Regions from separate parts of the Homo sapiens genome. Here all the other regions are linked to region 3. The links are contacts of gene promoters, found by promoter capture Hi-C in blood cells and fetal thymus (Javierre and others, 2016). All regions are on one chromosome and are shown on one strand. The core of a region is centred on a gene start or on the middle of the fragment in contact, and the rest is flanking DNA. Distances in the headings are between cores, read along the strand shown. Region 1 has its middle 40 kb from the start of MIR4733. Region 2 has its middle 100 kb from the start of COPRS. Region 3 holds the start of RAB11FIP4 (RAB11 family interacting protein 4).

What was found. The method cuts DNA at HindIII sites, captures the fragments that hold promoters and counts their contacts. A CHiCAGO score of 5 or more calls a contact.
Region 1: a fragment that was not itself captured here is called in contact with the fragment with the promoter of RAB11FIP4 in region 3 in 1 of 17 cell types (naive CD4 T cells); the score reaches 5.1 in naive CD4 T cells.
Region 2: a fragment that was not itself captured here is called in contact with the fragment with the promoter of RAB11FIP4 in region 3 in 1 of 17 cell types (M2 macrophages); the score reaches 5.7 in M2 macrophages.

Annotation. Positions count from the first base shown.
Region 1 is chr17:31,053,205-31,056,298 of GRCh38, forward strand. It overlaps the pseudogene LOC646030. Among named protein-coding and RNA genes, the nearest start is that of MIR4733, 40 kb to the right of the region's middle. The HindIII fragment of the contact is 3,265 bases long and covers 1-3,094 here.
Region 2 is chr17:31,758,213-31,761,081 of GRCh38, forward strand. It overlaps the pseudogene GPR160P2. Among named protein-coding and RNA genes, the nearest start is that of COPRS, 100 kb to the right of the region's middle. The HindIII fragment of the contact is 2,409 bases long and covers 304-2,712 here.
Region 3 is chr17:31,390,113-31,393,042 of GRCh38, forward strand. It overlaps RAB11FIP4 (RAB11 family interacting protein 4), which reads left to right and starts at 1,563. Exons shown (of 15, transcript NM_032932.6): 1 at 1,563-1,899. The coding sequence starts at 1,741. RefSeq lists an enhancer at 778-1,367. The HindIII fragment of the contact is 11,828 bases long and covers 1-2,930 here.

The DNA.
Region 1 (3,094 bases), core at 267-2,766, 340 kb before region 3:
ACCCTAGTATAAAAGACACAATCCCTGCTGTCAAGAGGTCACAGTTCTGGAAGGAACCCAGCGGTACTGGCAGCAGCGCTAGTGGGGAATGGGAGCACATAGAAGAGGCATTTGACTCAGCTTTGGAAAGAATTGGAAAAGGCTTTAAAGTAGAGTAAAAGTTTGCCAGAAAGAATAATCATTATTACAGCTTTTTTAAAGCGTCTTCTACATGCCAAGCACTGTGCTAAAATCTCCCTATATATATTGTTTTATTTTAATCCTCACAACTCTAAGAGGTCACTACTGTAATTATTCCAACTTCACAAATGAAGAAAGTGAGATTTAGCAAGGTCGCCTTGGTGGGGCATGGCTGCTCACACCTATAATCCCAGGATTTGGGAAGCCGAGGCAGGAGGATCACTTGAGTTTAGGGGTTTGAGGCCAGCTTGGGCAACATAGTGAGTCCTCTGTCTCTACAAAAAGAAAAAAAAATAGCTGGATATGGTAGCATGCACTTGTGGACCTAGCTACTTGGGAGGCTGAGGTGGGAGGATGGCTTGAGCCCGGGAGGTTGAGGCTGCAGTGAGCTGTGATCATGCCATTACACTCTAGTCTGGGTGACAGAGCGAGACCCTGTCTCAAATAAATAAATAAATAGGCTGGGCACGTGACTCAGGCCTGTAATCCCAGCACTTTGGGAGGCCAAGGCAGGTGTATCGCTTGAGGTCAGGCATTCAAGACCATCCTGACCAAAATGGTGAAACCCCATCTCTACTAAAAATACAAAAATTAGCTGGGCATGGTGGCACATGCCTGTAGTCCCAGATACTCAGGAGGCTGAAGAAGGAGAGTCACTTGAACCCAGGAGGCAGAGGTTGCACTAAGCCAAGCTCGCATCACTGCACTCCAGCCTGGGTGACAGAGTGACACACTGTCTCAAAAAAATACTAATAATAAATAAATAAATAAATAAAGTCAACCTGCTCACCTCTTCACTAAGAATGAATAGCAGAAATGAGAAATAGATGCAGCTTTTCCTGACTGTGTAGCCCATTCTCTTACCCAAGGCTGCTATTTACAGTCGTGCAGGTTGTACATTGCACAATTCCAATGCTGGCCCTGCACTCAATAAGCCATTATAGATGGGAAGGGTATCCAGGCAGAAGGGGCCTACTTTGCAGAAATATGAAAAAGCAACCTATATTCAGGGAACTGACCCCATACAGCCATGTCAGAGGCTACAGAACTCCTTGAAGATGGGCAGCTCCTCTGCACCTCCAGTGATTGTTTACAGAACTGACCGATAGTGTCTTGGGAGAGCTCCTGGGGTTTTGCATTTGTTTTTTGTTTGTTTGTGTTTGTTTTGCTTTTGAGACAGGGTCTTGCTCTGTCACCCAGGCTAGAGGGCAGTGGTGCAATGACGGCTCACTGCAACCTTGGCCTCCCAGGCTCAAGCTATTCTCCCACCTCAGCCTCCAGAGTAACTGGGACTACAGGCATGTACCACCACACTCAGCTAATTTTTATTTTTATTTTTGTAGAAATGGGGGGGGGGTCTCACTATGTTGCCCAGGCTAGTCTGTAACTCCTGGCTTTAAGCGACCCTGCTGTCATGGCCTCCCAAAGTGCTGGGATTACAGGCATAGCCACCGTGCCAGGCCAGGCTTTGCATTTGGTGTAGAGACCCAATCCTTCCTTCTTACAGAGCTATGGAGCTCTCAGCAGGATGTGCATACTTCTGAACTGTTGACCATGCAAACATTCAAGCACAGAGGATGCAGGAGGTCCTGAGTCTCCAAACTGCTCAGTGTCCTATGAATGGCCAATCAGTTTCTCATGCATAGGCACCAAACATAACCTGCCAAACAAGCCAGTTCAATATCTAAGCCACCCCAACTTCTTTGCAGAAGTCGTTTCAGTAGCAAAGAATGGTCTGAGAAAAATAGGCACAACCAGGGTGAATGCCTACAACACTCCAGGTGCTCAGCAAACGTGATCTCTTCCACTCTCACAGCTTTATGAGACATCATCTTTCATTTTGCTGATGAGGAAACTGAGGTTCAGGGATCAGGTAACTTACCTAGGTTACGTGTGCAACAAGCAGCCACGATTCTCACCAGAATCTTTCTAGTGGCACAGCCTCTATGCTTCTATCCTAATGTTGGCTTTCAAAAGGTACCCGGAAAAGGGCAGGAAACAGCTTACATGGCTCCTAAAATGCCTGACAGCATGTATGTGGCAGAGTCTCTCTCTACTTTTTTTTTTTTTTTTTTTTGAGACGGAGTCTCACTCTGTCGCCCAGGCTGGAGTGCAGTGGCACAATCTTGGCTCACTGCACATTCCACCTCCCGGGTTCATGCCATTCTCCTGCCTCAGCCTCCCGAGTAGCTGGGACTACAGGCATCCGCCACCACGCCCAGCTAATTTTTTGTATTTTTAGGAGAGACGGGGTTTCACCGTGTTAGCCAGGATGGTCTCAATCTCCTGACCTCGTGATCTGCCCGCCTCGGCCTCCTAAAGTGCTGGGATTATAGGCGTGAGCCACCGCACCCAGCCCTCTACTAAGGTACCCAGAAAAGGGCAGGAAACAGCTTATATGGTTCCTAAAGTGCCTGAGAGCATGTATGTGGCAGAATCTCTCTCTATTTTTAATTTTATGTATTTTTCTAGAACCTATGTCATCAATCTCAGAGCTCAGAGACCCCTCCTCAGGTGGAGAGGCTGCTTCCAGACATCATTCCACCACAGCCTTTTCTCACTGTGCAATAGTTTGGTGTTGACAGAGTAGAATAAATTATTAAATGCTTTTCTGGAATTGATTTGACTCCAAGGGTCTTTGTGTTAAAATAATTTCCTATATCAAATAGGGTTCTTGGTTGTGCCTGACTCTGACTAACTTAAGGGGGGTAGGGAGTGGAACTTATTGGAAAGATACAGAGCGAGAAAGAGTCTTTTTAAAAAAATGCTGTAATAATAGGGACGAGAACCAGGGTAGCTCTGGGGAAGGAAGTCACAGAAGTTAAAGGTTGGTTCTTCAGGATGTCATTATCAGGATGTTTCAGCTCTGACTCCTTTCTGCCCTTATTCACACACCCAGCTAGAGTTCGAGTTA
Region 2 (2,869 bases), core at 258-2,757, 370 kb after region 3:
TTACCATGCAGGTTGCGATTTTCCAAAATGGTGACATGCTCTTGTTAACATTGCACACAATGCAAAGTATAATCTTTCCCTTTTTTCCCAGTATTTGCACTTTTGAAAAATTGTTTATATTTGAAAAAATTCAAAAACATGACATTGCTTTATATATAAAACAGCATTCATTTCTGGGATCAGCAAATTATAAACAGGTTTTGGGGTGTTTTCTTTGTTTGTCTGTTTTGTTTTGTTTTATTGGGGGTTTTTTTCCTATATGAATTTCTTCCAGGACATTCAGAAGTTCAGAGGAGGCAGGAAAGCTTCTTGTTGCCTGGGTCTGTACCATATTGCACACGCTACAGGACTTGCCCTCTTAAATGGAAGTAGTTGACTGCAAAATCATTATGACAACCAAAAATAATCCCCCTAGTTCCAAAACCACCACTAAAGAGATGATATATCCCCATTGAGAACCACCAATCTAATAACTTCTGCCTGAATGCTTTCAGTGATAAGAAATTGACTCTACAATACCATCTCATTGACTCACCTGTCAGGAAGTAATAATTCCTTCTTCTATCTCTGGTGGGTACCCAAGTTGGGCCCCATCTCTGTACTATGGTCACCATGGAGCCTCTACCAAAGAAGCTGCTTTCTAGACCTTTCCATTGTGACTCACGCTCCAGACTCCACTGGGGGAAAAAGACAGATGTGGGAAGCTCTGCCCAGTCAGGATGAGGCTGGGGAATAATCTATTATGCTCTTCTTGCCCCATCTTGTAGTGGGTTAGTGAAAAGAGGGAGCTACAAAACAGCATATATGAGATTCTTTCATTATTATAAAAATGCATATGAGTGTGTGTGTGTGTGTGTGTGTGTGTGTGCAGAAGGAAAGACCACCTGCTCAGTGGTTAGGAACTCAGACAGACCTGGGCTCAACACCCAGATCTGCCACTTATTAAATGGTAAACCTTATTAAGTGGTTGGGAAAACAACCATCCTGAGACTTAGTTTCTCTGTCTATAAGGTGGGAATAATAAGGGCACCTACTTCATAGGAATAAATTAAGATAACACATGTGGGGCACTTAGCAGAATGCTTGGTGCCCAACAAATGTTGGCTTACGTGACTTTGCAATGATAGTGGATGAAACAATACATTTTTCCAGGGAAAACCCATATATGCACCCAAGGTGCAAAATGAGCCCCATGACCCCTTTGGCCTCACCAGGATGGCTGAGCACAAAATGAGATTAAATCCCTCTGATGACCTTGTGCAGTGGCAAGCCAGACTGTACCCTTCAATCTGGGGACCACCACACGGAAGAGGTCTGCAGAGAAAAGGCCCCATAGGCAAGACATAGCACAGGTTCAGCCCATACTTGTGCGAAAGACCCAGAGCTTATTCAGGCAGCATTTTGGTAGAACAAAGAGAAATGCAAGATTATTGGAGACCATAAAACAAAAAAAAATAGGGAGAAGATAATCAGCCAAGCAACCCACACTGGAAAAGTCAGGGGACAGAAAATTAAATGAAGCAGGGTTTTATCGTACATACTTGAGCAGGTCTTCTGAAATTTAGCTGCAAAATGTACCTGTTCATCCTTCATAGTCCTGCTGTCTGAGGTCTCCATCCTCACAAACAAACCAGCCCTCAGTGGGTTAGCTGCCTGCTGAGCTGGAGTATACTTGGGAAAAGGTTCCCAAATGTCTTCACACAAGGAATAAGATGAAAAAACTCCTGTCGATGTTTTATGGAATATTTTTACATTTTACTAGCATTCATCAGTCTTTTACTATTGACAAACATATCCCTTATATCCTATTTCAGGATTTTGAATTTTTAGGCATTAAATTTGGTAAATACTATATGTTCATTTTCTCAAGATATTTTATTTACATGTTTTTGTTTTCCAGTTTTCACAAGAGTTTCTTTAAATTCTTACTAGAATTTCTTTAAACTTCCAAGCTGCTATATCTGTTAAAAATTAATTGTATTTGTTCATTTGGATTTTATCTCTTATGTTTTAGAGAGCCAGCATAAACACACAGAACTTTTATTCTCATCAATGTCCTCTTTTTTTTTTTTTTTCTTTTTGTAAGAGATGAAGTCTTGCTTTGTCACCCTGGCTGGAGTACAGTGCACAACCATAGTTCACTGAAGTCTTGGACTTCTGGGCTCAAGTGATCCTTCTACCTCAGCCTCTTGAGGAGCTGGGACTATAGGTGTGAGGCACCACACCCAGCTAAAGTGAGACCCCATCTTTTTTCTTTAAAAGTACCACTCCAGGGGCTCCCAGGAGCAAGATCTAGGGTTGCACACAAGGCCCCACTCTGCACTCATTCCTCGCCTCAGCCTCCCAAGTAGCTGGGATTACAGATGGGAGCCACGGAGCCCAGCGTCAATGTCCTTTATAAGTCAGCATTACAAGTTATTGATTGATATCATTCATAATCTCTTGGTCAGAACTTGCCACATCAGTACTGGCAATTAGGATAACTTCCTATATGAATGAGGCTATTCCATGCCTTCTTTTTTCATCTGACTCTGATTCTAATTATACTGTGAGCTCTGAGAAAACATTCTTACTTGGTTACAATTTGTATTCCTTCAACTAATCACCCACTTACTTAAGTACAGATTCTAGCCTGTACTTAGATAAATATTCACTGGTTGTCCATGGTCAACAGTTTCCTGATTGCCACAGTTCCCTGGTTCAAGTATCACAAGCTTACTTTAACAGACATCAGCTGGGCGCAGTGGCTCACTCCTGTAATCCCAGCACTTTGGGAGGTGAGGCAGGCGGATCACGAGGTCAGGAGTTTGAGACAAACCTGGCCAACACGGTGAAACCCTGTCTCTACTAAAAATACAAAAAGTAGCCA
Region 3 (2,930 bases), core at 313-2,812:
CATCCCAGGAGCCGGGGCTGGAAAGAAGAGGTCCCCGCCCACTGTCAGAAGGCAAATGGCAGTCCCTGCGCAGGATATATTCAGGGTTGAGCAGGAAGACCACAGAGGTACAAACCGAGGCCCAGCTAGGGGAGGCCATGCAGTTCACCCCGTACTCCCTGTCTGCGCCACTACGTTGCTCCCGGCTCCTCACATAATGGGCGGGCCCATCCCCTCTGGGTGGGGCTTCCTCTGGGCCCACTCTTGCCTGGAGATCAGGGACTTGAAGGTAATTAAGACATATCTTGCCCTGGAGGGCTTCCCAGCATGGTAGGGGAAATGGGCATCCCACTAGAGAATTAAGAATTAACTGGGCACCTGGAAGAAGGGCTTAGAACTCAGAATAGAAGATAAGATGGCGTGCCATCAGAGAAGCCTTCCCGGAGGAGGAAACCTCTGTGCTGAGCATGACAGCATAGGTGGGAGTAGACTCAGCCAAGGCCTTTTTTTGGGTTGGGGCCAGTCGTTGCCACAAAGACCTGATGTGCCGAGCAAGAAGGTGGAGAGAAGAGCCCGGCCGGGTCCTGCAGGGCCCCGAGGCTGGGCTGGGAAGTTAGCACAAGCTGGGGTGGAGGCTCCGCTGAGCACTAATGGGAGGAGGCCAGGGTCCTGACCTAGAGCCTGCGGCCAGCGGGACAGAGATTCTGTCCTGGATTCTCTGAGCTTGGGGCATGCGGGCTGCCAGGGAGGTGTGATGGTGGGAACCCGGCGAAAGGGAGGAAGCCTCTTCCAGGCGTGGAGCAGCCTTGGGCCCTGAACAGGCAGGCCTCTGGAAGCGCCTCGCTTTTCCTCCCTCCGGCCTCATCCTGGTTTTCTCCTCATCTCCCCGTCGCAGGGTCCCGGGTCCAGGCTGGGGTTCAGTTGCCTGCTCCTCCTCTCTGTGCCCTCCCCCGCCCGATGGCCCCACAAGTGCTGTCTTGCAGGAGAGCGCCGGGAGACCGCAGGGCGGAGGTGAAGAACGGAGTCCAGAGCCCTCCAGAGATGGCAGCGAATCCCGGCCCTGCCTCTTGCCAGCTGTGTGGCCTAGAGTGAGTCCGACCTCTCTGGGCCTCAGCTTCCTCCGGGATGAATGCAGTCACGGAACGCGCCAATGCAGGAGGCCCCCAGGACATCCTGAGCGCTCGGGAGACGCCAGGCGCGGCAGCGGGCACGGATAGCGGAAAGGGGCGCGACCCCGCGGAATCCTCCGGCAGGGCAGGGCCTTTGGGTGGCTCCGGGTGTCCAGAGGAAGGGGTGGGCTCGGGGACGCGGAGGGAAACTGGGGACGCGGAGGGAAACTGAGGTCGCGGAGGACGCGGCCGTTGGCAGCTCGCTGCGCCTGCCGGCCCCGCGTGGGCCGCCCCACTCGGGAGGACGCGGGCTCCTTTTGTCTGCAGCGTCCCCGCCGCCGCCGCCCCCGCCGCCTCCCCCTCTCCCTCCCATTTTCGCCGCGGCCCCCGCCCCTCCCCTCCCCGCCCCCTATTGCCCCTCCTCCTTCCCCTCCCCACTCTTCTCCTTCCCTCCCCTCCCCTCCCTTCCCCTCCGGAGCGGCTGGGGCTGCGGCGCCGCTGCTGACACGGATCGGCCGCGGCCGCCACCGGGCGGAGGCTGCGCGGCGCAGACCCAGACGGGCGGCCCCGGAGGGCGCGCGGCGATGGCGGCGGCGGGCAGGCGGCGGGCGCGGCGGGCGAGGGGTCCGGGCTGAGCTGCGGGCCGGCCCGGATGGCGGGCGGCGCGGGCTGGTCGGGCGCCCCCGCGGCTCTGCTGCGCTCCGTGCGCCGCCTGCGCGAGGTGTTCGAGGTGTGCGGCCGCGACCCCGACGGCTTCCTGCGCGTGGAGCGCGTCGCGGCGCTCGGACTGCGCTTCGGCCAGGGCGAGGAGGTAAGCTGGCCCGACCCCAGTCCCGGCCCGGGGACCCCAGCCCAGCCCCGCCGCCCCTCCCCCAGCTCCCCCGCCGGGTCACCCGCGTGGCCCGAGGCGGTGGCCTCCCTCCCAATCCCCTCCCTCCGCCGGAGCCCAGGACCTCGGCCCCCCCCGGGTATCCCTGGCCCAGCCGGGCCCTCGCTTTCCGCCCCCCGGCGCCCGTGCCCCGAGCGTCACGCGTCACGCCTAGGGTGGCTTCTGCGCCCACCTTCCTTCCTCGGCCATGCAGGTCCTTCTGAGCGGTCTGCACATCCACCCTTGTCTGGGGGAGAGAGCTGCCAGAATCCGGCCCTAGGCTCCCCACCCCACCCGGCGCTGCGGAGACCAAGATGCAAGGGTCTGTGTACGTCCTGCTGGGCCGGGCCAGGGGGTGAAAGGGACCGGTAGGGGTGCTCTGCAGCCTTGGCTCCTCGGCTGCACACACCCTGCCCAGACACGGAAGGAGGTGTCTGCTGGGGCCACCGTGTACTCCCGGGCCAGTGTCGGGTGACCTCTCATTCAGGCTCTGCTGGGCAGCCAGGCTGGCAGCTGGCTGTGTTGGTTGCAGCAGGCCAGGCAAAGCCAGGCTCGGGGAGTGGTGGCTGAGCAGAGGGCTTTCATGTGGCGGGGCCGCATCTATTTGGGGAAAGCAGGACTTACGTAGATTGTTAACAGGGCTGGAAGCGGAGGGTCGGTGCCGCCAGTAGGGTGGACGGAGTCATATCACTAAACGCACACTACACCAGTGTCCTCTGGTGCCACCGGCATGGGGACTGGGGACTGTGTCTCAAGGGGAGGACAAGACACCCACCTGGCTGAAATGGTCAGGGGTTTCCCCTGGAGCCAAAAGCCCTGAGAAGTGGGTTTCCAAGGCCATCTAAGGCCTCAGGCCCTGCATGGGGGGCCTGGGGCCATGGGCCTCAAATGGGCACTGGCTGGCATTGTGTTCCCAGAACAGGTCGGACCAGGCATTTCAGAACATGGGAGAAGCTGGGTGATGGCCAGGTTGG